Linked DNA regions of Homo sapiens: all the other regions are linked to region 1. The links are contacts of gene promoters, found by promoter capture Hi-C in blood cells and fetal thymus (Javierre and others, 2016). All regions are on one chromosome and are shown on one strand. The core of a region is centred on a gene start or on the middle of the fragment in contact, and the rest is flanking DNA. Distances in the headings are between cores, read along the strand shown. Region 1 holds the start of CABP1 (calcium binding protein 1). Region 2 overlaps LOC105370030 (a long non-coding RNA gene). Region 3 overlaps LOC105378258 (a long non-coding RNA gene). Region 4 holds the start of HNF1A-AS1 (HNF1A antisense RNA 1). Region 5 holds the start of MSI1 (musashi RNA binding protein 1).

The links. The method cuts DNA at HindIII sites, captures the fragments that hold promoters and counts their contacts. A CHiCAGO score of 5 or more calls a contact.
Region 2: a fragment that was not itself captured here is called in contact with the fragment with the promoter of CABP1 in region 1 in 1 of 17 cell types (naive CD8 T cells); the score reaches 5.1 in naive CD8 T cells.
Region 3: a fragment that was not itself captured here is called in contact with the fragment with the promoter of CABP1 in region 1 in 1 of 17 cell types (naive B cells); the score reaches 5.4 in naive B cells.
Region 4: a contact is called between the fragment with the promoter of HNF1A-AS1 here and the fragment with the promoter of CABP1 in region 1, in 2 of 17 cell types (erythroblasts and monocytes). The highest score is 7.0, in erythroblasts.
Region 5: a contact is called between the fragment with the promoter of MSI1 here and the fragment with the promoter of CABP1 in region 1, in 1 of 17 cell types (total CD8 T cells). The highest score is 5.2, in total CD8 T cells.

The regions. Positions count from the first base shown.
Region 1 is chr12:120,638,342-120,643,280 of GRCh38, reverse strand. CABP1 (calcium binding protein 1) reads right to left here and starts at 2,655. Exons shown (of 6, transcript NM_001033677.2): 1 at 1,942-2,655. The coding sequence starts at 2,595. CABP1-DT (CABP1 divergent transcript) reads left to right here and starts at 2,759. Exons shown (of 2, transcript NR_183426.1): 1 at 2,759-3,231. RefSeq lists silencers at 1,676-1,775, 1,996-2,165, 2,176-2,275, 2,496-2,795 and an enhancer at 4,267-4,768. The HindIII fragment of the contact is 19,814 bases long and covers 1-4,939 here.
Region 2 is chr12:121,115,933-121,120,871 of GRCh38, reverse strand. It overlaps LOC105370030 (a long non-coding RNA gene), which reads right to left. Exons shown (of 3, transcript XR_007063494.1): 2 at 3,990-4,099; 3 at 1,166-1,423. Among named protein-coding and RNA genes, the nearest start is that of P2RX7, 14 kb to the left of the region's middle. The HindIII fragment of the contact is 9,656 bases long and covers 1-4,939 here.
Region 3 is chr12:121,061,692-121,066,630 of GRCh38, reverse strand. All of the region lies in intron 3 of LOC105378258 (a long non-coding RNA gene), which reads left to right. Among named protein-coding and RNA genes, the nearest start is that of OASL, 25 kb to the right of the region's middle. The HindIII fragment of the contact is 6,035 bases long and covers 1-4,878 here.
Region 4 is chr12:120,970,299-120,975,237 of GRCh38, reverse strand. It overlaps HNF1A-AS1 (HNF1A antisense RNA 1), which reads left to right and starts at 2,946. Exons shown (of 1, transcript NR_024345.1): 1 at 2,946-4,939. RefSeq lists an enhancer at 1,826-2,353. The HindIII fragment of the contact is 11,110 bases long and covers 1-4,939 here.
Region 5 is chr12:120,366,856-120,371,794 of GRCh38, reverse strand. MSI1 (musashi RNA binding protein 1) reads left to right here and starts at 2,631. Exons shown (of 15, transcript NM_002442.4): 1 at 2,631-2,762; 2 at 2,922-2,962; 3 at 3,522-3,603; 4 at 3,703-3,787. The coding sequence starts at 2,704. It also overlaps the pseudogene RPS27P25. The HindIII fragment of the contact is 14,859 bases long and covers 1,146-4,939 here.

The DNA of each region.
Region 1 (4,939 bases), core at 1,406-3,905:
TGGAAGCCCAAACTGAATGTGCTGGGCTTTAAAGTAAAAGCCCGCAGCTGAGAGGCAAGAGCTTCCACAGGGAGGTAGTAAATATTTGATGGGAACTTCCAGCTCCTCCTGACTCAGGTGACCCTGGTGACATTTCAGAACATTGGGCCGGAGAATTCACTTAATGACTGAGAAATTAGAAGGAGAAACAAAAGCACGTCGCTACAATGCTCGGAGCTCAGAAAGGGCTCATGTAGGCAAATTCTGCAAGACAGGAAAGAAAGGACTCTTTTTTTTTTTTTTTTTCAGGAGCTGAGTCAGATCAGCTGCAAACTGAGTAACCAGAAAGTGTATGATTCTAGGCCAATGACCTACCCTTCCAAACTGCTAGGTACAGCCAGGGCCCTGGCTATCTGGTTCACTGTTGTCTTCCTGGTGTCTAGCAAATGTCTGAACAAACAAACCACAGGAACTAAGGAAACCCCTGAAGGTTTCCTTAATAAATGCTCAAGAAATAATTGATAAATGAATGAATTGGTATCACCCATTCAACAACCCAGCATTCCTGCTGCAACCCAGCCCCAATCCAAAGACCACTCGTGCCCTGGCAGCCTACACCTCCTCATTAACACAAAGCACTGCAGTGAACTCCCCTGACACATCGCCTCACTAACTCTCACGGCTCTGCATCCACATCTCTACTCCAGAGAACTGTTTCCAGCTAACTCGGCTAACGAGGGCTCCCTGCAGGAACAAAGCCACACACCACTGCCCTATGGCCCCACCACAGCAGCACCACGCAACCCAAATCCATGTGCGGCTGCCTTCATGTCAGACCTCCACCAGCATCAGCCACTGCCGAGTAGTATTTTGAAAAGAAATGTGCAGATCTGAAGCAAAACACACAGGGCCTCCTTGGAATTCTGATCCGGCGTGGCAAGCCAGGAGCTTGAAACAGCTTCTTTATGCTAGATCTCAGCACAGAAAGGCACAGCCCCCCCTGTTTCCCTACAAACCACGCAAACGCTCTAATCAGACCTCTGCATGACACCTCTCGGAGGCTGCCACAGAACTGTCTCAAAGCTGTGCCAATGAGTTTGACTTGATTACAGACTCCGAACTAGGGGAAACCCTGGCTTTTTTGCTCAGGAGTTCAGAGGTTTCCTTCTACTGAGCCTGTTTCCCCAGCAGCACAGCCTCAAACTGTAGACCTATATTGTGACTACGGAGCTGCTTTTAAAGGGCAGGCTCCCAGGTGCCTGGGACTCTTGAGGGAAAGGCCTGAGGGAACCACTGATGACCTCTTTGTGGCCTTTCTCACCCTTCCAATGGCATCCCTAGAGTGACAGCCTCCTTAAACCACCCCAAAGTTCCAGTTTGAGCCACAGCTCTGCATGCCCCTCCATGCCTACCCAGACACCTCTTCTCTTTCCTCATATTTTTGGATCTCCTAACTTTTCTCAGGCCTTCAGGGACATGATAGGCAGTGGCCAGTGTCCCTCGCCCTCAAGTAATTCTGTGTTCTCTGAGGTCCCCTCTCTTGACCCCCAGACTCCAAACCGCTTGCTCTCCTGAGTCCCTCCCTGGCGGTACTGGCCAGAGGCCAGAGGAGTGGGTTTGGCGCCACCTGCTCGGAGCGCCCCTCCTTGACCCCCGCAAATCTCCAGGACGGTCGTAGAGGTCGCTCTCTTCCAGGACTGGCGGGTTCTGGCGGGTATGAGGGAGGCTAGCGGGGAGGGCCTTGCCCCAAGAGGCCCGGAGCGTGGACAGCGCACGGGGTGCTGAATCAGGCACGGGGAGGAGGAGTGCCGGCAAGGGCGCCGGCCCGGGGAGGACGAGGTGAGCCGAGGCGTGATCCGTGGGGGACCACGGGCCGCGGGAGGAGGCTGTGGACGCGCAACCGCGGCCGGCAGGGTCCCGAGCGCCTTTCCCGGGAGCGCTGACGGGAGGCGCGGCCCTTACCTGGCCAAAGGCGGAGCTGAGCATGGGGCGCAGCCGGTGGAGGAACGGGTCCGCCTCGGACGCGGCGGCTGGAACGGAGTCCCCGCGGCCCCGGGCTCGCAGAGAGCCCCGGAGGCCGAGCGCCGGGGACAGTCCCCGTTCCTCCCCATCCCGCCCGCGGGCCGGCGGCAGCGGCGACGACGGCGAAGGTCGGGACGCCGCGGCCGGCAGCGCCTCCCGGGGCCTGCAGTGCGCCTGGGGGAGCACACGCTGGCTCCCCCGCGCGCCCTCCTCTCGCGGCGCCGGCCGGCACAGGGGCCTCCGCGAACTGGGGTCCCCGGACGACTGCGGCGTCGCCGGGCAGGAGCCGGGTAGCCGGCGGCTAGGCAGCCCCGGGTCCCGGGCAGGGCCGTGGCGGGGAGCCCGGCTGCCCCCGCTCGCCGCCGCCGCCGCCGCCTTCAGCAGCGACGTCTTGGACTCGCTTTTGGCGATGTGCGAGCTCATCGCGGCGGGGCCCGCGCTCGCATGGCCCGGCGGGGGCGGCGCGGTGCGGCGCGGCGCGGGGCCCCCGGCGGGCAGAGAACGGGGCTCCCGGCGGGAGCCAAGCCCGAGGACGCGCTGGAGGCGGGCGCCGTCCCCCGGCCGCTTAAATGCGGCCCCGTCGCCGCCGCCCATGTGACAGCGCAGCCTCTACGCCCGGAGCCCGGAGCTCCCGGCGGCTGGCGGTGCAGATCTGGGGGCGCTGCCGGCTGTCCCCGGAGAGCCCACCCCCGGCTCCCTGGCGGCCCAGGTACCGCCGCGCCCCGCCCCTTGCCCCGCCCCGCCCTGGGGGAGCCCCGCTTCCGGGCGGCCCCTGGCGGCGAAGGGGACGCTGCAACGCGGAGCGGGAGCACGAGGAGGGAAGGGGCTTGGCAATGGGCCCCAAAGAGGCCGAGACCCCGGGAGTGCCGGCAGCGCTCTTTATCACGCCTGGAGGCTCCTGCAGAGCCCCGGAACCGCCCGAACCTCCAGAAATGCAGGCAGGGTGCACTCCCCAGGGGGTACAACTTTGGCAATGAGGACTACAGAGGTCCGGGGAGAACCGGAGACCCGAGGAGCATGAAGGCACTCTGTGACATCACTGCCTACAAACGCAGGGGCCGGAATGCAGTGACAGGACACTGCTGGGAGGAAAGTCTCCCAGCGCCTCCGTGTGGGGCTGCCTCCACTCCCAATACCGTGCGGGGGGACTAGGACGACCCTGGTAAGTCAGCCACAGGATATCAGTTCTCAGAATAGAAGAGAAGCCAGGTCTGGCAGCACCTGATGATGGTAAGTCTCAGGTAGGACCCATTTGCTCCCCCTCCAGCTCTTGTCCCCTCTTTCACCTTCCTGCCTTTCTAGATGCTACAGAAATTCCTGCTCTCGGTGGGCAGCCAGGGAGCGTCCCAGGCCTTATCTGAATCTCAAATCCCAGCTCTGCCACCTACCATCTGGGTAACTTGGGCAGGTGTCATCAACCTCTCTGAGCCTTGTTCTCCTCTTCTGTAAAATGCAGATGATAAGCATAACTAATTTCTTGGTAACAGCAGACGATACTATGCACACAAAAGGCCTAGCCCAGTGCTCGGACAGGGGACCATCCAGTTAAGCCAGTTCCCTTCCCCCTGCACATCGTGAGGCCCCATCTACCATTCTTCTTTAGTATCCGGTGCTTGAGCTTTGCGGGGGGCTGGAGGGGTTCCTCCCAGGCTCTCCCTGTTCTGGTCCCTGGCCCCAATGCCATCCACAGTCTTGTCACCGCTCGGCCTCATTAAAAGGATACACGAGGCCGGGCACAGTGGCTCGCACCTGTAATCCCAGCACTTTGGGAGGCCAAGACCGGCGGATCACTTGAGGTCAGGAGTTCGAGACCAGCCTGGCCAACATGGTGAAACCCTGTCTCTACTAAAAATACAAAAATTAGCCAGGCGTGGTGGTGGGCGCCTGTAATCCCAGCCACTTGTAGGCATGAGAATAACTTGAACCCGGGAAGTGAAAGTTGCAGTGAGCCGAGATTGGGTCACTACACTCCAGCCTGGGCAACAGAGTGAGACCCTGTCTCAAAAAAAAAAAAAAAAAAAAAAAAAAAGAAGGGTACACAAACAGATTGCCGATATTACACTTCACTCATGCCAAGAGTTCATCCTTCTCTGCACTGTCTGCTTCTTTACAGAGTGTTGCTCTGTCACCAGGCTGGAGTGCAGTGGCACGATCTCGGCTCACTGCAACCTCTGCCCCCCAGGTTCAAGCGATTCTCCTGCCTCAGCCTCCCGAGTAGCTGGGATTACAGGCACCCGCCACCACACCCAGCTAATTTTTTGTATTTTTAGTAGAGATGGGGTCTCACCATGTTAGCCAGGATGGTCTCGATCTCCTGACCTCATGATCTGCCCGCCTTGGCCTCCCAAAATGCTGGGATTACAGGCGTGAGCCACCGCGCTGGGCCCTGTGTGCCTCTTTTACTTATCCATAGGCAAGGAATTAAGGAAAATGGATGGGCTGGGAAAGCAACTGCCCAGAGGCTAAAGTAAACTAGGAAAGTGTGGCAAATTGTTCCCCAGATCAGCTACCCTTAAGGGACTGAATTGCCATATCAAAGCCACTCAGGTTCCTAAAGCCCAAATCCTGAAGCAGCCTGGGGCGTTGCAGCCCTGAAGGCTCATTGCAGGGTCCTCTGGGATATGCAGGGTGTAATGAGTCCACCCTTTGAGTTCGAGGTCAGTCAATGTCTTACCTGCTCCAGCCCTCAGAATAATCAGTGTTTGGCAGGATTAAAAACAAAGGCACATTCAATATAAATCACAGGAGATAAAGAACCTTATCAGAAACCCTCAGGAGCCAATGAGAGGCAGAGGACTGCTGGGTATTCTAAATCCCTGCTGTGCCACTGTTGGTAACCTTTCTGAAATGCCCTAAATATTTTTGGGCAAGACCTCGGTCACCAACTAGTTTTTGAAAAACTGAAGAATCTGATTATGTTACCTATGATTACTAGAGT
Region 2 (4,939 bases), core at 1-2,500, 480 kb before region 1:
TGTACAGATATTCCACATTTTGTTTGTCTGTTAATCCGTAGATGAACATTTAGTTTCTTTCCACTTTTTGGCTACTGTGGATAATGCTGGTATAAACATGGTTCTACAAATTCCTATTCATGTTCCTGCCTTCAATTCTTTGGGGGGATATAGCCAGTAGTAGAATTGCTGGGTCATGTGGTAATTCTGTATTTAAGTTTTTGAGGAAACACGTTTTGTTTTTTCTTTTTTATTCTTTTAACACAAAGAACATTTCTTCTGTATTTTTATGTAATCTGCCAGGATAGCCACGCGTGCCTGATAGCATCTCCTTTTAAACCCAAAAGCTGAATACATCACCCTTGGAAGGGGAAATATCTTCCTTGTATCAGTGAGTCACCGCCTCTCTCGCTAAAGCAGAAATAAAAATTATTAATTTAATTCCAGCTGGGCACATTGGCTCATGCCTGTAATCCCAGCATTTTGGGAGGCCAAGGCAGACAGATCATCTGAGGTCAGGGGTTCGAGACCACCTTGGCCAACATGGTGAAATCCCATCTCTACTAAAAATATAAAAATTAACTGGGCATGGTGTTAGGCATCTGTAGTTCCAGCTACTCAGGAGGCTGAGGCAAGGGGATCACTTGAACCTTGGAGGTGGAGGTTGCAGTGAGCCGAGATCACACCGCTGCATTCCAGCCTAGGCAATGAGTGAGACTCCGTCTTAAAAAAATAAAAATAAAAATAAAAATAAAAATGTAATTCCAACAGTGCATTTTGCTACAGAGGATAGAGAGGGGAAGCAGAATAAAGTTATGCTGAATAGTTGGACATTTAGGACATGAGACAAAAAACAGAAGCAGAGAGACTGAGAGAAGGAAGAGAGGAGCTGAGTTATGGGGCTGTGGCGTGAAGACCACCAGCCCCAAGACTCCCTCGAGTGATCCTCAATAAAGAGTTCCTCCCTAGTCCTGGACTCCAGGAGGCCTGACTCATTTACAACATGTCTTCTTGTTTTCTACGAGATCTCGTCTTCCATATTTCTCTCTGAGCATCCGCATAAGAAGCCCTAAGTGTGTAACTGTTCAAACGAACGCAGCTAAAACACAGTCTCATTCCCTTGGTTCCCACCAAACTGACAGCACCTTCATGTCAATGACATTGACTCACTTGGGCCCATTTTGTTGAGCCAGTGACATGGCACTCATCAGAGTAGTCGTCTCAATCCAGCTAAAGAGCTCCAAGCCAAATGGAGAAGCCAGTGGAATGGGTAGGAACTGGGATTGTCACTATGCTGAGGAATGGAGATGGTGATATGGGATAAAGCAGGTACAGCAAGCAGGACGTGAGGGCCAGAGCTGAGGGGTCTGCAGGTCAGGAGGCTGAGCTCAGGATCGCTGGAGGCCCCAGGAAGGTGTAGGGAGGGCACCTTGGTTCTGCCCACCTGCAGGAAGAGAAGAGGGGATGGCGATAGAGTCCATGATTGAAGATCTCTGTACTTCTCCCTGCCCATGGCATAGCTCTTACCAAAACTCCCTCTTTTCACTGGCCTTTTTATCCAGTCAAACCAAATTTCCCTTGTCTCTCTCTCTCTCTCTCTCTTTCTCTTGCTTTTTTTCATACCCACCCCCATTTCTCTTATGCCTAGAACAGTCGCCCACTTAGCATCTGCCTGCCCAGTACTTTGCCTTCCTTTACAACTCCACCTACCACTTAATTTCTCTAAGTGGCTAATTAACTGAAAGTTGAATAATTATACCTCTTTCCCCAAAACACATCTCTGAAATCCCACATGCCCCTGGGGTTGCGATCCATGAAGAAAGGTCTCTGACTACCTAATTTTCATTAAGGGAATTCAATGAGATGACTAATTACAAGCACCATGCCTGGTATCTAATACTGTTCAGTGAACTGCAGCTATTAATTAATAATGATATGTTATTAATAATAATAAAATAATAATATGATATAAGCTCTTAGAAGACAAGGACAGTGGCTGCTCTATGCCAAGTTTCAATAATCCAATATTCAATTTTTTTTTTTTTTGAGACAGAATCTCGCTCTGTCGCTCAGGCTGGAGTGCAATGGCACGATTTCGGCTCACTGCAACCTCCATCTCCTGGGTTCAAGCAATTCTCTGCCTCAGCCTCCCGAGTAGCTGGGATTACAGGTGCCTGCCACCATGCCCAGCTAATTTTTGTATTTTTAGTAGAGACAGGGTTTCACCATCTTGTTCAGGCTGGTCTTGAACTCCTGACCTCGTGATCCACCCACCTCAGCCTCCCAAAGTGCTAGGTTTCTAGGCGTGAACCACCATGTCTGACCTCAGATATTTAATTGTAGCAGAGATTGATAGATTTTTCTGCCATGCCCATCTTCCCCCTCTAGCTCAATTTGAGATCACAGACCTTCATATCCATAGCTGTGGCTTATTGGACCAGGGTGAACATCTGCCCAGGAGAGCAAGACTATTGGCTGGTCAGTGGCCAATTGGGACTGCTCTATTGAGAATATGAGCCATGTGTAGCGGCTCATGCCTGTAATCCCAGCAATTTGGGAGGCCAAGGCAGGAGGATCACTTGAGGCCAAGAGTTCAAGACCAGCCTGGGCAACATAGCGAGACCCTGTCTCTACAAAAAAAAATTTTTTTTAATTAGGCATGGTGGTGTGTGCTTGTAGCCTAGCTACTTGGGAGCCTGAGGTGGGAGGATTGCTTTAGCCAAGAGTTTATTTGTAGAGATGAGGTTTCACTATGTTGCCCAGGCTGGTCTCAAACTCCTGGGCTCAAGCAATCCTCCCACCTCGGCCTCCCAGAGTGGTAAGATTACAAGCGTGAGTCACCAGACCCAACCCCAGCTCTGCCATCTCTATGGTGTTACCTTCATCAGCATGATCCAAAATGGTTCCCACCAGAACTGAATTCTAAAAAGGCTGGAAGCACTTTAGGAGGCTGAGGCAGGTGGATCACCTGAGGTCAGGAGTTCGAGACCAGCCTGGCCAACATGGTGAAACCTCATCTTTACTAAAAATACAAAAAATTAGCTGGGCGTGGTGGCACGTGCCTATAATCCCAGCTATTTGGGAAGCTGAAGCAGGAGAATTGCTTGAACCCAGGAGGTGGAGGTTGCAATGAGCGGAGATTGCACTACTACACTCCAGCCTGGGTGACAGAGCAAGACTCCATTTTTCAAAATCAATAAATCAATAAAAAATTAAAAGCCTGGAAGAAAGAGGAAAGGAGAAAGAGAAGGCATGTTCCTCCCTTGAAGGATGGGATCTGTCACTGCCACTTGCAGGTCATTGGCCAGAGCGTAGTCACATGGTCACACCTACCTGCAGTAGAAGGTAGGAAATGCCATCCTCATTCTGCTGACCATGTTCCCTACCGAAAATCAGGGAGCCAGACATTGAAGACAACCAAGAATTCCTGCCACCAGTACCCATGAAACAGTCCTCTGAGCTGGGGCTGAATGAGTCCTACACATGGAAGGAAATCTTTGGGTTTCCAGGGGATCTGGGCAGCTCTGAGGCATATAACATAGCCCAGCCAGGAAAAAGCTCCCAAAAGAGAATTTATTTGTCCAGGAATGTACAGGCAAAAAATCACCATTCTGTGTTTTTCCATGGGGTAGAGGCCTGACCAACCTCATGTGGTTTGTTCCGTCCAGCTTGGCACTGACAGAGGCTGGTGGGGCCTGGGGGAGGGTCTGAAAATCCAGGGTCTCAGGTATGAACTACTGCTCTGATCAACTGCTAGGCTGTGTCCTGTGGGAATGTGCTGGGTTTCTACATGACCCAGAGGTCACTGATTTCACAAGATCTGCAAACAATCCAATATTCAAATATTTAACTATAGCAGAGATTGATAGATTTTTCTGCCATGCCCAGTATCCCCCTATAGCTCAATCTGAAATCAACAGACCTTCATATCCACAGCTGTGGCTTATTGGACCATTCCCTGATCCACCAGCTGAACGAGAGTCATGCTGTCCTCTGAGGCTCCACCATACCTGGAATAGACATCTCTTGGTAGGACCATGCTTCCTGTGTTCTCAGTTGATATGGCTCAGATTGAGCTGTCCCCTTCCGCAAGTCCCAGGGGCAGGTCCAGGATCCAGTCCTAGATAATCAAAGCACAATTTTTCCCTGGCTACTGTGCTTTGTTCAAGAGCAGGCACATGATTCAGGTTGGTCTGAGACAAGTCTTGGAATTTTGGCTAAAATCATTGAAAAAGTGGTGCTCTTTGAGTTGGAGTTGCTAAGCTGGCAGGACATAAGCCTAAAGCTCTTGGTGGCCGTCATGCCAGCAGGGAATTAAGTTGACTCAGAGAAAACCAGAGGCAGAGGGTAATGATGGAGGGATTTCTGATGACATCATTTGAACACACTGATCAAGCCATACCTGAAACCTCACTAGATTTAGGAGCCAATAACCTCCCTTTATTGCTTAAGCCAATTGGAGCAGGCATACATATCACTTTTGACCAAGAGTCTTGGCTAATCTAGCATCTTTGTGTCCCTTCATAACGTGGCTTCTCACTTTGTATCTGATGTGGCAATTATTCCTGAGCACAATTAATGCGTCCTCCTTGGCTACGAGAATTTTTTTTTCTTTTTTTTTTCTTTTTAGATGGAGTCTCTCTCTGTTGTCCAGGCTGGAATGCAGCGGTGCGATCTCAGCTCACTGCAACCTCCACCTGCTGGATGCAAGTGATTCTCCTGCCTCAGCCTCCCGAGTAGCTGGGACTAAAGGTGCATGCCACCACGCCCGGCTAATTTTTATATTTTTAGTAGAGACAGGGTTTCACCATGTTGGTCAGGCAGGTCTCGAACTCCTGACCTCAAGTGATTTGCCCTCCTCAGCCTCCCAAAGTGCTGGGATTACAGGCATGAGCCACCGTGCCCAGCCAGCTATGAGATCTTGAAACCAGAATTCCTCCTAGGTGCCAGACACAACTCA
Region 3 (4,939 bases), core at 612-3,111, 420 kb before region 1:
GGACTGCACGTGGTTGATGAAGAAATCCGTGAACCTGAGAAAATGTCAATAGAACTTCCCAAACTGAAAAGCAAGAGAAAAAAAGACTGAGGAAAACAGAAAAAAATATCAAAAAATGGCGGGACAATTACAAAAGGTATAACATCTTCGTAAAGGGAATTCTAAAAGGAGAAAAATGAAAGAAGCAGAAGAAATATTTTAACTAATAATGGCTGATAACTCACCAAAATTATTGACAGACACCAAGCCATAGATCCAGGAATCTCAGAACACCAAACAGGATAAATACAAAGAAGTCAATATCTCATCATATCATATTCAAATTTTGTAAAATCAAAGATAAAAACTTTGAAAGAAGCCGGGCACAGTGGCTCAGGCCTGTAATCTCAGCGCTTTGGGAGGCCAAGGTGGGCTGATCACTTGAAGTCAGGAGTTCGAGACCAGCCTGGCCAACATGGTGAAACAGTCTCTACTAAAAATACAAAAATTAGCTGGGCGAGGTGATGGGTGCCTGTAGTCCCAGCTACTCAGGAGGCTGAAGCAGGAGAATTGCTTAAACCCAGGAGACAGAGCTTGCAGTGAGCCAAGATCACGCCACTGCACTCCAGCCTGGGCAACAGAGCAAGACTCCATCTCGAAAAAAAAAAGAAAAAGAAAAAAAAAAAACTTTGAAAGAAGCCAAAGGAAAATATACATACTACTCATAGAGGCACTAGTATAAGAATTACACTGGGCAGGGTGCAGTGGTTCACACTTATAATCCCAGCACTTTGGAGGCCAAGGCAGTAGGACTGCTTGAGCTCAGGAGTTTGAGACCAGCCTGGGCAACATAGAGAAACCCCATCTCTACAAAAAATATGAAATATTAGCAAGGCTTGCCAGTGTTTGCCTGTGGTTCCAGCTACTCGGGAGGCTGAGGCAGAAGGCTCACTTGAGCCTGGGAGGTTGAGGCTACAGTAAGTCAAGATTAAGGCACTGTGCTCCAGCTTGGGCACCAGAGTGAAACCCTGTCTCAGGGGAAAAAAAAAAAAAAAGAATTACGTTGAACTTCTTGTCAGGAACCACATAAGAAGGAAGAGAGTGGAGTAAAATACCTAGTGTTGAAAGAAAAAGCCCCCACACCTAGAATTCTGTACCTATCAAAATTATCCTTCAAAAGTGAAAGAGAAATAAAGAACTTTCAGGTAAGCAAAAAATGGTGGGGCATTTTGGAAGAATATAGATTTCCATTTCATAAATGCAGAAAGAATGAGGGAAATGGAGAATTGCATTGAGGCAAAATTCATCAGTAATTTATAGCCAGTAGATCTATCTTGTAAGAAATGTTATTTAAAAAAAAAAACCAAAAAAAAAAAAACTTGTTCAGAGACAAGGAAAATAGGTCAGAAACAACATCACTTTTGAGCTGAAATTTTTATTCACTATTTTATGTCATTTTTCTTTAAAGGGATCTAGAAAATTTTAGAAGCTCCACAAACCCTGGATAGGCTTTTGCAGCCAGCCATGAGCTTATCCCGCCCCTCTCACTCCACCTTATCCACCCACATTTCCAAAAACCCAGTCTTATTTTGTGACCCAGAGTCACAAGCTCCCCAAACGTGCTCAATACGTATGCTCCCAACAAATGGCAAAATCTTATTTTTACCATTAACGAAAAGAAGAAGAAAATCATTCTGGCGTTTTGTTGATGATGGTTGAGATGAGGGCAACTTCGAACTTAGAACCCTGAGTGGAACCGCTTTTTGTTCTTCCTGGGAATACCTGTTGGAAACAAGAATTAAAGAATGTGGTTACAGCCGGACGCGGTGGCTCACACCTGCAATCCCAGTACTTTGGGAGTCCGAGGCAGGCGGATCACCTGAGGTCAGGAGTTCAAGACCAGCCTGGTCAACATGGCGAAACCCTGTCTCTACAAAAAATACAAAAATTAGCCAGGGGCGGTGGCTTGTGCCTGTAATCCCAGCTGCTCAGGAGTCTGGGGCAGGAGAATCATTTGAACCCAGGAGGCAGAGGTTGCAGTGAGCTAAGATCCCACCACCGCACTCCAGCCTGGGCAACGAGAGCGAGACTCTGTCTCAAAAAAAAAAAAAAAAAAAAAAATTAAAAAAAAAAAGAATGTGGTTATTAGAGGCAATTCAGGATTATCCAGGCTTCCCTTGAAGAAACATATGCAAGGCTCTAAAATGGGAGCCAGATGGAAGAAAAAGTTGCAGGCTTACTGGGGAGGTGGGAAACACCCGGATCCCAGTCCCACATGTGACTTGAGAGCTGAGAGGCTGATGACTAGATGCCCTGCTGCCCCAGGGCTCCCTTCTGACTGATATGAAGGCTGGAGATTTTCCCTACACTATCCCTTAGCACCCAGCATGATGCACAAAAAACAGGAATTCAATAAAAAGGTTTGAGATGTGACTCTTGTTTAGGATGTCTTTTGGTCCTCAAGAATCTTCCACAGGAGAAGCCAAGCATGGTGGCATGCACTGTAATCCCAGCTATTCAGGAGGCTGAATGAAGCAGGAAGATCCTTTGAGCCCAGGAATTTGACTCCAGCCTGGGCAACATAGCGAGACGCCCCTCCATCTCTAATAAAAATTTTGAAAAATAAAAAAAAGCATCTTCCACAGCAGAGATTCTTTTTTTTTTTTTTTTTTTTTGAGACGGAGTCTCGCTCTGTCGCCCAGGCCGGACTGCGGACTGCAGTGGCGCAATCTCGGCTCACTGCAAGCTCCGCTTCCCGGGTTCACGCCATTCTCCTGCCTCAGCCTCCCGAGTAGCTGGGACTACAGGCGCCCGCCACCGCGCCCGGCTAATTTTTTGTATTTTTAGTAGAGACGGGGTTTCACCTTGTTAACCAGGATGGTCTCGATCTCCTGACCTCATGATCCACCCGCCTCGGCCTCCCAAAGTGCTGGGATTACAGGCGTGAGCCACCGCGCCCGGCCCAGAGATTCTTTTTTTATTTTTTTGAGACAGAGTCTGACGCCCAGGCTGAAGTGCAGTGGCACGATCTTGGCTCACCGCAACCTCTGCCTCCCCAGTTCAAGCGATTCTCCTGCCTCAGCCTCCCGAGCAGCTTGGATTACAGGCGCCCACCACCACGCCTGACTAATTCTTTTGTATTTTTAGTAGAGATGGGGTTTCACCATATTGGCCAGGCTGGTCTCAAACTCCTGACCTCAAGTGATCCACCCGCCTCAACCTCCCAAAGTGCTGGGATTACAGACATGAGCCATCGTGTCCGGCCCCATAGCAGAGATTCTTAACTTGGGGTCCAGGAAGCCCCTGAAATTGCATGCAAAATATTAGCATTAACATGTTTTTTAGAGGGAGGGCCCCTTGCATTCATCATTTTCTCTGGTGCTCACAAGACTTCAAAATGTTAAGAAACACTGGGGTAAATGAAGAAGCAAGCACCTCCAGGAAGGAGGTCCCGCACCACCATGCACAGAGTGTCTGCAATGCAGAACCAGAGAGGACCTTTGGGATGGTCCACTGTGGTTGAGCCACCATACTCAAAGATGGGGACCCTTGATAGATGCCTTGACGAAGCAAGCAGAAGGTCACCAGGAAGTTCTCTGTCCTCCACCATCTATCCGTTTTATGGACTAAAAAATAGTCACAAGATTGAAGTGCTTTTGCTTCCTAGGAAACATGGTGTCATTCATTCATTTATTCAGCCAACATTAACTGAGGCCCCATTGTGTGCCAAGAAATGTGCTAGACCCTGGGACCACGTGCTTCTCACGCTGAAGATTCCCAGTAGAGAAGACACATAACAAACTGCCCGTAGAATGGGGCTGCCTTATTCATTTATGTATTCTCCAAGCCTCGCCCAGTGCCCAGCACGTAGTAGGAGCTCAATAAATAATAAGTGCCTTGGGCAGTAAGATAATGTCGTGGGTAAACCTCTGGCATTTAGAATCAGAGAACCTGGGTTTGAATCACAGCTTGTCCACTTCTTTGGTGTGTGACTCTGGGCAGGCCACATCATCTTGCTGAGACTCGATTTCTTCATAATGTAACATGGTGTGAACCTGCATCACAGAGTCTTGTGGGGATTATGGGAACTAAACTGTGAAAAGAGGCTGGGTGTGGAGGCTCGCGACTCTAATCCCAGCACTTTGGGAGGTCAAGGCAGGCGGATCACTGGAGCCCAGGAGTTTGAGACCAGCCTGGGCAGCATAGCAAAACCCCATCTCTACAAAAAAAAAAAGTACAAAAATTAGCCAGGCTCAGTGATGCATACTTGTAGTCTCAGCTACTCAGGAGGCTGAGGTGGGAGAATCACTTGAGCCTGGGAGGTGAGGTTGCAGTGAGCCCAGATCATGCCACGCACTCCAGCCTGGGTGACAGAGCCAGATCCCATCTCAAAAAAAATAAAGAATAAAATAAACTGTGTAGAGAGCCTGGTATACACGAAGTGCTTGATAAGTATAGCTATTGGAGTTAATATCAATACCATAATGTCAAAGAGCCCTGGTAAACACTCTGGGCTCCTGTCTGCCTTCTGAAAAACAAGGATTAAGCAGATCCCCTCTGTCTCTTCTGTACTAGGATCCTAGGAACTACAAATGGTGATTGTTTTAGGTGGGTGTGGAGCATCATCTTGTGGAAGAGAGGAAAATTGACAAAAATGTCGCAGTTTCCTATTAAGAATATATATTGGAATTCACAGTTTTTAAAATATGAGTACATATACCAAAAATGCCCTAATGCAAGGTGATCCCCAAATCCAATCAATTTTTCCAATGGACTAATAACAAATATTTGCCAGGGAGAAAATAAAAATGTGTTTGAGAATCACATGGATCAATGGGGAAAAACATAAAAATAAATGAAAAATAAAAATATGTTGGCATAGCCCTAATTACATAAGCTTAAGGGAAATCAAATATGCACTTCCAATATTTCGTTAATTTATTTAGATACAGCTATACAT
Region 4 (4,939 bases), core at 1,697-4,196, 330 kb before region 1:
GAGGCAGGAAAATCACTTGAACCTGGGAGGCGGAGGTGGCAGTGAACCAAGATCATGCCACTGCACTCTGGCCTGGGTGATACAGCAAGACACTGTCTCAAAAAAAAAAAAAAAAAAAAAAAAGACAATTTAAAAGTTAACATTTAGGCCGGGCGCGGTGGCTCACGCCTGTAATCTCAGCACTTTGGGAGGCCGAGGTGGGCGGATCACAAGGTCAGGAGATTGAGACCATCCTGCCTAACATGGTGAAACCCCGTCTCTACTAAAAATACAAGAAATTAGCCTGGCGTGGTGGCGGGCGCCTGTAGTCCCAGCTACTTAGGAGGCTGAGGCAGGAGAATGGCGTGAACCCAGGATGCGGAGCTTGCAGTGAGCCGAGATCGCGCCACTGTACTCCAGCCTGGGCGACAGAGCGAGACTCCCTCTCAAAAAAAAAAAAAAAAAAAAAAAGTTAACATTTAGAATAATTTTAAATTAGATTTAATTAAAATATTATTTATATATTATACAAATATAATGTTATATTTAGTTTAAAATAATTTGGTTTAAATTAAAATTTTATTTATAAAAATAACTTTTTATTTTAAAAATTAAAGAAAATAACTTCACCTGTTCCATTTTACTTTTTATTTTTTTAAGAGCCAGATTCTTACTCTGTCACCCAGGCTGGCATGATCATAGCTCACTTCAGCCTAGAACTCCTGGCTTCAAGCAATCCTCCCACCTCAGCATCCCAAGTAGCTGGAACTACAGGTACGCACCATCATGCCCAGCTTCATTTATATATTTATCTTTTTTGTTTGTTTTTTGAGACAGGGTCTCCTTCTGTCGCCCGAGCTGGAGTGCAGTGGCACAATCTTGGCAAACTGCAACCTATGCTTCTGGGGCTCCCGTGATCCTCCCACCTCAGCCTCTCCAATAGCTGGGACTACAAGCGTGTGCCACCATGCCTCGCTAATTTTTGTATTTTTTAGTAGAGACAAGAGTTTGCCACATTGCCCAGGCTGGTCTCAAACTCCTGAGCCCAAGCCATCTGCCCACCTCGTCCTCCCAAGGTGCTGGGATTACAGGGGTGAGCCACTGCACCCTGCCTATTTATTTACTTTTCTTAGAGATGGGGGTCTTGCTTTGTTGCCCAGGCTGGTCTCGAACTCCTGGGCTCAAGCAATCCTCTCACCTCAGCCTCCCAAAGTGTTGGGATTACAGGCATGAGCCATCTCACCTGGCCAGTAATGTATTTCACTCCAAGAACAACTCATGAATTAGGAACTGTTATAATCCCCCTTCTGCAGGGGAGGAAAGAGAGGCTCAGAGAGGTTAAATGACTGCTCAGAGTCCCTCAGAGCTGGGCTTTAAGTCCACCTGAGGCAGGCGGACGGGCTGTGCAGGACAAGTTGGCAGCCCCCGCCTTAAGGAGAGTGGTACCCTCTTTCCTCCAGTGCATTTATGTTTTATTTTTATTTTTGAGACAGAGCCTCACTTTGTCACCCAGGCTGGAGTACAGTGGTGCGATCTCAGCTCACTGTAACCTCTGCCTCCTGGGTTCGAGCAATCCTCCTACCTTAGCCTCCTGAGTAGCTGGGACTACAGGCACACACCACCATGCCTGGCTAATTTTTGTATTTTTGGTAGAGACAGGGTTTCACCATGTTTGCCAGGCTGGTCTCAAACTCCTGGCCTCAAAAGATCCACCCACCTCGGCCTCCCAAACTGTTGGGATTATAGGCGTGAGCCACCGTGCCCGGCCAAGTGCATTTTTTTGTAAACCCCCGTGCAAGTTGCTTTGAGGTTGAGCAGCTTACTGCTGGGGACAGCATTCTCAAGTCCAGGCTAAACAGGGAAGATGCTGTGTGCTGTCCCTTTGTGGCTTTGAGGTTCTCCTGCTTATTCTCTTTGCTGCCTGCAGCTGCCTCTTGGTGACTTTCCCTTTCCAGGGAGCCAGAGGAACCAAGGAGTGTTGGCCCTGACTCCTGCCCCCAGCATGTAAACTCATTAACTGCTGGGTCCTCAGGCAGTTAGGTGGCTGAGCATTTGAGTCTGGGACGGCAGGTGGATTTGGTTGGAGAGGGAATGACAGAGATTGGGGAGGAGCCTCCAGAGTCTAAAGAGATAGGTACACAAGCAGAAAGTTCCAGCCCCCAGCCTGCCTTTCCCCCATGCTCAGGGGACAAAGCTGAATTAACTCGAGGTCAGGAATGGCATTTGCATTTGCATTCTTGAGAGTCACTGCAAATAAGAGCTGTAGTCATGGTGAGTGGTTAAGGCAATGGACTAGAGAACCACTGAGAAAAAAAGCGAACAGTGGCTGGGCGCAGTGGCTCATGCCTGTCATCCCAGCACTTTGGGAGACCGAAGTGGGTGGATCACTTGAGGTCAGGAGTTCGAGACCAGCCTGGCCAACATGGTGAAAACCCGTCTCTACTAAAAATACAAAAATTAGCCAGGCTTGTCAGTGGGCACCTATAATCCCAGCTAGTCGGAAGGCTGAGGCAGGAGAATCACTTGAACCCAGAAGGCAGAGGTTGCAGTGAGCTGAGATCATGACACTGCACTCCAGCCTGGGTGACAGAGAGAAACTCCGTCTCAAAAAAAAAAGAAAAAGAAAAAAAAAAAAAGGAACAGCCGGACATGGTAGCTCATACCTGTAATCCCAGCGCTTTGGGAGACCGAGGCAGGTGGATCACCTGAGGTCAGGAGTTCCAGATCAGCCTGGCCAACATGGTAAAACCCCATCTCTACTAAAAATACAAAAATTAGCTGGATGTGGTGGCGCACACCTGTAGTCCCAGATACTCAGGAGGCTGAGGCAGGAGAATAGCTTGAACCCGGGAGGCGGAGGTTGCAGTGAGCAGAGATCACGCCACTGCACTCCAGCCTGGGCGATAGAGTAACAATCCGTCTCAAAAAAATCTGAAAATTAAAAATTAAAAAGTGAACAGTTGTTTAGTAAGTGCAGTAGGTAGGCCAAGATAACTATTAAGTATGTCCTAACAAGGTAGCTGCTTGAAAAAAATAATGCACATAAATTAAAAAAAAAAAAACTATTTTCACTCATTCTTAACTTCTCGTATGGATGTACTAACGGGAGGCCTGTGCCTGTTGGGCTGTCCACAGCTACTCAAACCTTGAGATTAGATTGGACGCTATCTAATCTCATTTCCTGTTACACAATAACTTCTGCATGGCACTTGCTTTTAATCATGACAACTGCCATACACTCAGCTTTACAAAATCATGTCATTGTGGAAAGGAAGTTCCCTCCATCTAACATTCAAATTTAACTATCCTGAGCTGGTAGTTTGCAAGGTGTCCAACAGATGTCACTGTGTTTCCTTCGCAAATTCTCTAAAATAGTCTGCTGTGTCCCGGGGCATAGTAGATATTCAAGAAATGGTGGCTATGAGTTTTATCACAATTCTCTCCTACTGGGTGAGCAGCTGTTTGCAAGACTAAAATTCGGGCGAGGCACAGGCTTCCCCTTGGTCTTAGCAGCTAGCACAAGACGAGTGTCCCTTCAGCCAGTCTCAGAGCTCTTTGGCAATTCAACTGACCCTTGTCCTTCAGTCCAGACAATGCCCCAGGGCCCACCTGCATTCAAACTCGGACTGTTCTCCTTCCCACCCCTATTATCTTTTCAACTTTATGGACAGTACATGCAATTTTCTCATTCATTTTCTCATTTAACATCTAACAGCTTCATGATATCCCCATTTTACAGATAAGGAAACCAAGGCTTTAAGAGGATAGGGACCCTAATCGGCTAAGGCAGAATTAGGATTTGAACCCAGATCCCCATGACGCCAGAATCTAAGCCTTGACCAAATATGTGTTACTATTACTTTTGTTGTTGTTGTTGTTCTGGGTAACTCCAACCCTCTGCTCGTTGGCCTTGTCACCTCAGTGCTGATTTTGCAGATGAAGAGACTAAGGTTCCGAGGTGCTAGAGCACAGTGGTTAGGAACACACACTCTAGAGCCAGAGTGCCTGGGTTTGAGCCTCGTTCTGCCGTTTACTAGCCGTATGGCCTTGGGCAACTTGCTTAACTTCTCTTTGCCTCAGTTCCTCTTCTCTTGGGTTGTTAGGAGAATGAATGAGGTGATATCCACAGTGTCCAACACCCTGCAAGCGGCCAGGTGTGGTGGATCACACCTGCAATCCCAGCACTTTGGGAGGCCGAGGCAGGTGGATCATTTGAGGTCAGGAGTTCGAGACCAGTCTGGCCAACATGGCGAAACCTCATTTCTACTAAAAATACAAAAATTAGCCGGGCGTGGTGGCAAACAACTGTAATCCGAGCTACTAGGGAGGCTGAGGCAGAAGAATCGCTTGAACCCAGGAGACAGAGGTTGCAGTGAGCCAAGATTGCACCACTGCACTCCAGCCTGGGCGACAGAGTGAGACCCTGCCTCAAAAACTAAAAATAAAAAATGAACAGTGTCCAACACCTTGAAAGCATTCCGCATGACTGAACGATCACTGTTACGTGATTACCAACATGACGACCCCACTTCTCTTGGCCAAACTGAGTTCTCTTCTCTTGTAAAAACTTCTGCATATGAAGTCACCCATTCCATTTGACTCTTTAGCCCTCATCCTGGCATTCAAGGGCATGGACGACTCAACCCCACTCTCTAGCCAGCCTGACCTCTCCATTCCCTTCTCTGGCGTAGAGGCCACTCCCACCACCTGCCCTTACCCCCTGCCCACTTTTGTCAGCCTGTACTGTGTTGAAGCTCCCAGGAGAGACAACTGCAGTCATCACTTTCCACTGTGTTCAGTGATGTCAGTTCGGCCCAGCTGGAGGTACTCACATCATGGAAACAGACCATCAGATTTGGTGTGTGTGTGTTTTATTTTGCTTTTTCAGAGAGCCAGCTGTTAAACACTAGCCAACACCCCATTGATGCTGTTCCTTCTACCTGAAACACCTCGCATTGCC
Region 5 (4,939 bases), core at 1,382-3,881, 270 kb after region 1:
TGAATGAATATGCTAATACATGGATCCTATCTCAAGCTACTTCTTACACAGCATTGGCTGACTCTGAACAGATGCCTTTACCCATTTCCTTTTTTTTTTTTAATCCAAAATGTGTTTATTGAGATGGTTTCCCACTCATCTTGATTCAGAGTGCTTTGGGTGCTGCTTCCTCCTGAAGGAACATCCTTCTGTAGCCTTCCTTTTCCTCCTGTAGGCTGGCAGAGAACAGTGGAGCAGGCAACACACAAAACTACCGTTTGTGCATGGCTACAGACCATGGTGATTTTATAGCATCCTGGGCATGTCATATCCATGAAGTAGGAATCGGGACTCTGCACCAGGCGTTTCTTCTTCTGTTTCCTCTTCTCTTCTGGAGAAGGATGAAGGAGATCCCTGTCGAGAGGCATGTTCTCGTGGGTAGGTCGCCACTGCCGGAAAGGACCCATTTCCTATCCTTCAAGCTCATCTGCCCAGCAGCACCAGCACACAAACCAAAGTCCAGGAACACTGGAAGATCCCTACTCCCCGCACCTCTCCAATGACCCTTTTTAAGTTCAGACCTAAGAAGAGTCACCTCCCTAATACCGCAGAGGCTACCTGCTCACCCTCATCTGTGTCTCTGCTACAACACAAACTGGAATGCTTTTGTGTCGGAATGGTAAGAAATGCCTTGTGTGGGTGGCCCTCCAGTCCCCAGTCCAGGGGATGCTGAGAAACTGTGGGGCAGAGTAGGGGACACAAACAGGAAAAAGCAAGTTTGTTTCTAGTGTTATGCTCACAGGGTGGCAGGATATACCTGCTGAGCATTCCCAGAAGGTCCCCAAGGAAACCATTACTGTAAGTCTCTCACTTTCTTCTCTGCCTGATGGTTGGGGTGGGGAGAGGGAAGGAGGGCTATCAAGAGGGGGATGGGCACCCTTCCAGAGGTCAGAGTTATGATGCCCAGGAATAAAAGGTGTTGAATTCAGGATGGAATGTGAAGGTGAACAGCAAAGGGCTTGTCAACATGGGTTGTCACTGGATTACACCGGATGGATTAAGGTAGGGATGGGGGAAGGAGTAGAAGGTGAGTTGGGAGGGAGGGGCTTGTGTGGCACTGAGACCCCCAGCAGGGATGGGGAGAAGGGGTGTTGGCCACCTAAGCTTCCTGGTTTGATCCTTTTTTGGCTGGTTTCAGCTGGGGAAGTGAAGGGTCCTAAGGCTTGGATATGGAGAGGTGGGAATATGGAGAGGTGGGGATATGGAGAGGCGGGGATAAGGAGAGGTGGGGATAAGGAGAGTGGCCCCGCAGCTCCCCTGGTGAACCAGAATACTTTCTCAGGGTTGTTCCCAGGCTGGAGGGAGGGAATTTTAGGGGTACGTAAGGTGACTCCAAGGAGCCTTGGGTGCAAGTACTGGGGGATCCCAGAGACCCAGAAGATGGGGGTAGAAAGGAAGGTGTTTGCCTTCACGGGGAGTAGCCTCAAAATAAGAGGGACTGAGGGAAGTCATTCCAAATGCAGTGGGTAGGTAGTTTAGGCTCTTCCAATGGGATGGGGTGGAGCTTAGACCTCTGCAAAAGAAGGGGGTCATTCGGAGGGGACGGTGCACAGCTGAGGCGTTGGGCTCCTAAACTGGAAACAGGAGGCTCTAAGAGGCACTGCCTTTTCCTCCAGCCTCGGTGTGGTGGGGGTGGTGAGTGTCTGGAACCGGGTTTCCCGAATCAGGACAGGAGTCTGAATGGATCTCACAAAAACCGGCCAGGGAGGGAGAGAACCAGGGGAGACTCCTCACACCGGGAGGTGGGGGTGGCGGCAAACTGAGAACCCGGGCTTGGGGCGCGGGATTTTCTCAACAGACCATAGGGTCCACTAATGTGGACGGCAGGGATTTGGGGAAACTAAGGGGGACTCTCACTTTGGACACCAAGGGCTGAGGACGGATTGGGGAAGAGGATACGGTTTCTACTGGGGTGCTGATGGAGGTTCCCCACTCGGGACGCGAGGCACTGAGTGGGTCCCCCAAACTGGATATGGGATCCTGGGAACGGAGCGAGGGCTCTAAATTAGAGCCCTGGGGTGGGGGTGGGGGGCTGTAAATTAGGTTGGGAGGAAACTGGGGGCTCTGAGGGCGGCTTCTCGCTCCGACTGGGGAAATGGAGCATGTGGGGACTGGGGAGCACTAGGGCTATCTCCCGCCCGACCCGAGGAGATTGGGGTTCTCTTCAATTCTGGACAGCAGGGACCTGAGAGGGAAGACCGGGGGGGTTCCCGATCCGGAACCGAGCTACCTTGAAGGCACCGGGAAGCGCTTCATTCCGGGAGGGCGTTCCCGCGGCCGGGCCCCCGCGCCGGGGTGGGTGGGGGGTGCGGCCGCGCCCTGGTCCCGGCCCGCACCGGGATTCGGGGGTCTCGCTCGGCCCCGGAGACCCAGGAGCCCCGCGGGAAGGGGGTCCCGGCGCCGCCGCCTCCGCGGGCGCCCGGGCTCGCGGGCGAGCGCGGGGCTTTATGCGCGCAGGGCGGCGGGGGGAGGAGCCGGCAGGTCGGCCCCCGGCGGGCCCTCCCCTCGGCCGTCCCCGCCCGCCCGCCCGAGCGGGGTCGGGGGAGGGGGCAGCATGGCCTGTCCGTCCGGCCCCCTTCGCCGCGCTCCTCATCTGCCCCGCGCCGAGCGCCGCCGCCGCCGCCGCCGCCGCCGCTCCGCTGCCCGCGCCGCCCGCGGCTCCCGATGGAGACTGACGCGCCCCAGCCCGGCCTCGCCTCCCCGGACTCGCCGCACGACCCCTGGTACGGCCCGGCCCGGCCTGCTTGGCCCGCGCCCGCCCCGGCCCCGCCAACATGGCCGATCCGGGTCCGGCCGGGCCTCCCCGGAGCCCGGGCCCGCGCCCCCTGCGCCCTGGCGCCCGGCGCTCACGCGGGCCCTTTGTGTCTCTCCTCCTCCCGCAGCAAGATGTTCATCGGGGGACTCAGTTGGCAGACTACGCAGGGTGAGCGAGCCCGGGAGCGCCCGCCGGTCCGGCAGGGCACCCCGGACCCCCCGGCGCCCCGGACCCGGACACCCCAGCCCGGCCCTGCGCCCTGCTGACCCCGGGCGCCCTCGCGCCCTCTTTCGCGCCCCGCCCGGAGACCCCGAGAGCGCAGGGCGATCCGCGAGCGCACCCGGCCCAGCGGGTGGAGGGGAGCAGATGAGGGGTTCAGGGGGTATCGGGGGGTGGGCTGGGCCCCCGGGACCCGCCGGCGGCAGCGCCAACTCCGCTCGCACCTGCGGCTCAAACTTTTGTGAGGCTGCTCCCGGAGCGGCGGGAACCCGGCCGGAGCCGTCCCCCTTCCAGCCCAGCTCGGCCCTCGGCTTCCCGGGGCCCCGGTGGGCGCCAGGAGGCTCAGCGGGAACGGGGCGAGGGCGGTGGGGGGCGGCGGCAGTGGAGAACGCGCGGGCAGCTTGGCGCGGGGGCGGCCGGGCCGCTCCGGGGTCACCGGGGGCAAAGGACGGGGGGGGGGGAAGGGCGCGGGGCCCGGGCTGGTCCGAAGGCGGGTGTGTGGTTACAGAAGGGCTGCGCGAATACTTCGGCCAGTTCGGGGAGGTGAAGGAGTGTCTGGTGATGCGGGACCCCCTGACCAAGAGATCCAGGTGAGCCCCTCACCCCCTCCTCCTGCTCCCGGCTCGCCCCCCTCCACCCGCCACTCACTGCCTTGTAACCATCTGCCTCTCCCTCACTACGGCGCGCAGGGGTTTCGGCTTCGTCACTTTCATGGACCAGGCGGGGGTGGATAAAGTGCTGGCGCAATCGCGGCACGAGCTCGACTCCAAAACAGTGAGTGGCCCTCGGGGCTTCGGGGGTCCTTTGGGAGAGGGAGGCTGCCGGAGGAGAGGGTCAGGACTCTCCCCAGGGGACAGCTGGACGGGGTCCATGAGGAAGGAGGGAGTTTTTCTGAGTAAGAGGGCTGCCATGCTCTGAAACTTTGTCACTAGAGTTGGGGGGGAGAGGGAGGAGAAAAATCCCTGGCCTGCCATGAGATGCTACATCCCCCCTCCCCTAGTCCTGGTGAGGGGAGAGGCAGCCGCCACCCTCTCCCTAGAAGTACTAATCATGATGCCTCAGAGCAGAGCTTGGGGTGGGGCTAGGTCCCTCCCCCAGCCCAAATTGGGTGAGTCAGGGTAGCACTGACCCACCCGGTGGCTTCTGTGAACTCTAACTAGTATTTGGCTCTGCGACACCCCCTCTTCATCCAGACCAATGGCAAAGCATCCCTTGAAGCCCCCTCCCTCTCTCCTTCCCTCCTCCCCCGACTTTTGGTCAATGAGCTCCTTGCTTTGTGTGGAAGACAGGGACCTGCTTTGCCCACGGAGGGGATTTATGAGAAAGGCTCTAGCTTGCCTGGAAACGACCCTTCGGAAGACTAGATCTTAGGAGAAGCTGCTTGGTTGGCATTCAAACTCATGGAACATTTTGCTGTTGTCCCACAGCTCCTTCGTGTCTTAGACCCTGCAGGGGGCGCTGGCTCCAGGGCAGATGGAAAAGTAGAAAAGTCAGAGGAGGGGGTTACTCCCATGTGATGGGGGTGTCTGTCTGCTGGGGGCAGGGATAGTGTGGATCTCTTCTCTCCATGCTTCCCTGCTGTCCCCCAGCCTTGGGCCTCTCTGCTTGGGTCAGTCCCTGGCTCCCGTTTACCTGCAACAATAGCTGCTTGTGCCCAAGAATTTGTCAAATTACCGCCTGTCCCCAGCTCCTGTTATCTCTGCCCAGTGGCTCCCGCTCCCGCTCGCAGTAATGAGCAAATGAGGCCAGGCCTCAACTTTGCCGGCTCTGAAAGGATCTTCTTGGCGCAGCCTGAGTGACCCAAGCCTGGAAATGGAGAGACAGTGGCCTATTGTTTTTGGTGATTATCTGCCATCAAGCTGCCTGTTCTGCTACCATCCCCTGTCCTCAGAATGCACTGATGGCTTCTGCAGTGCTGAGGAAGCT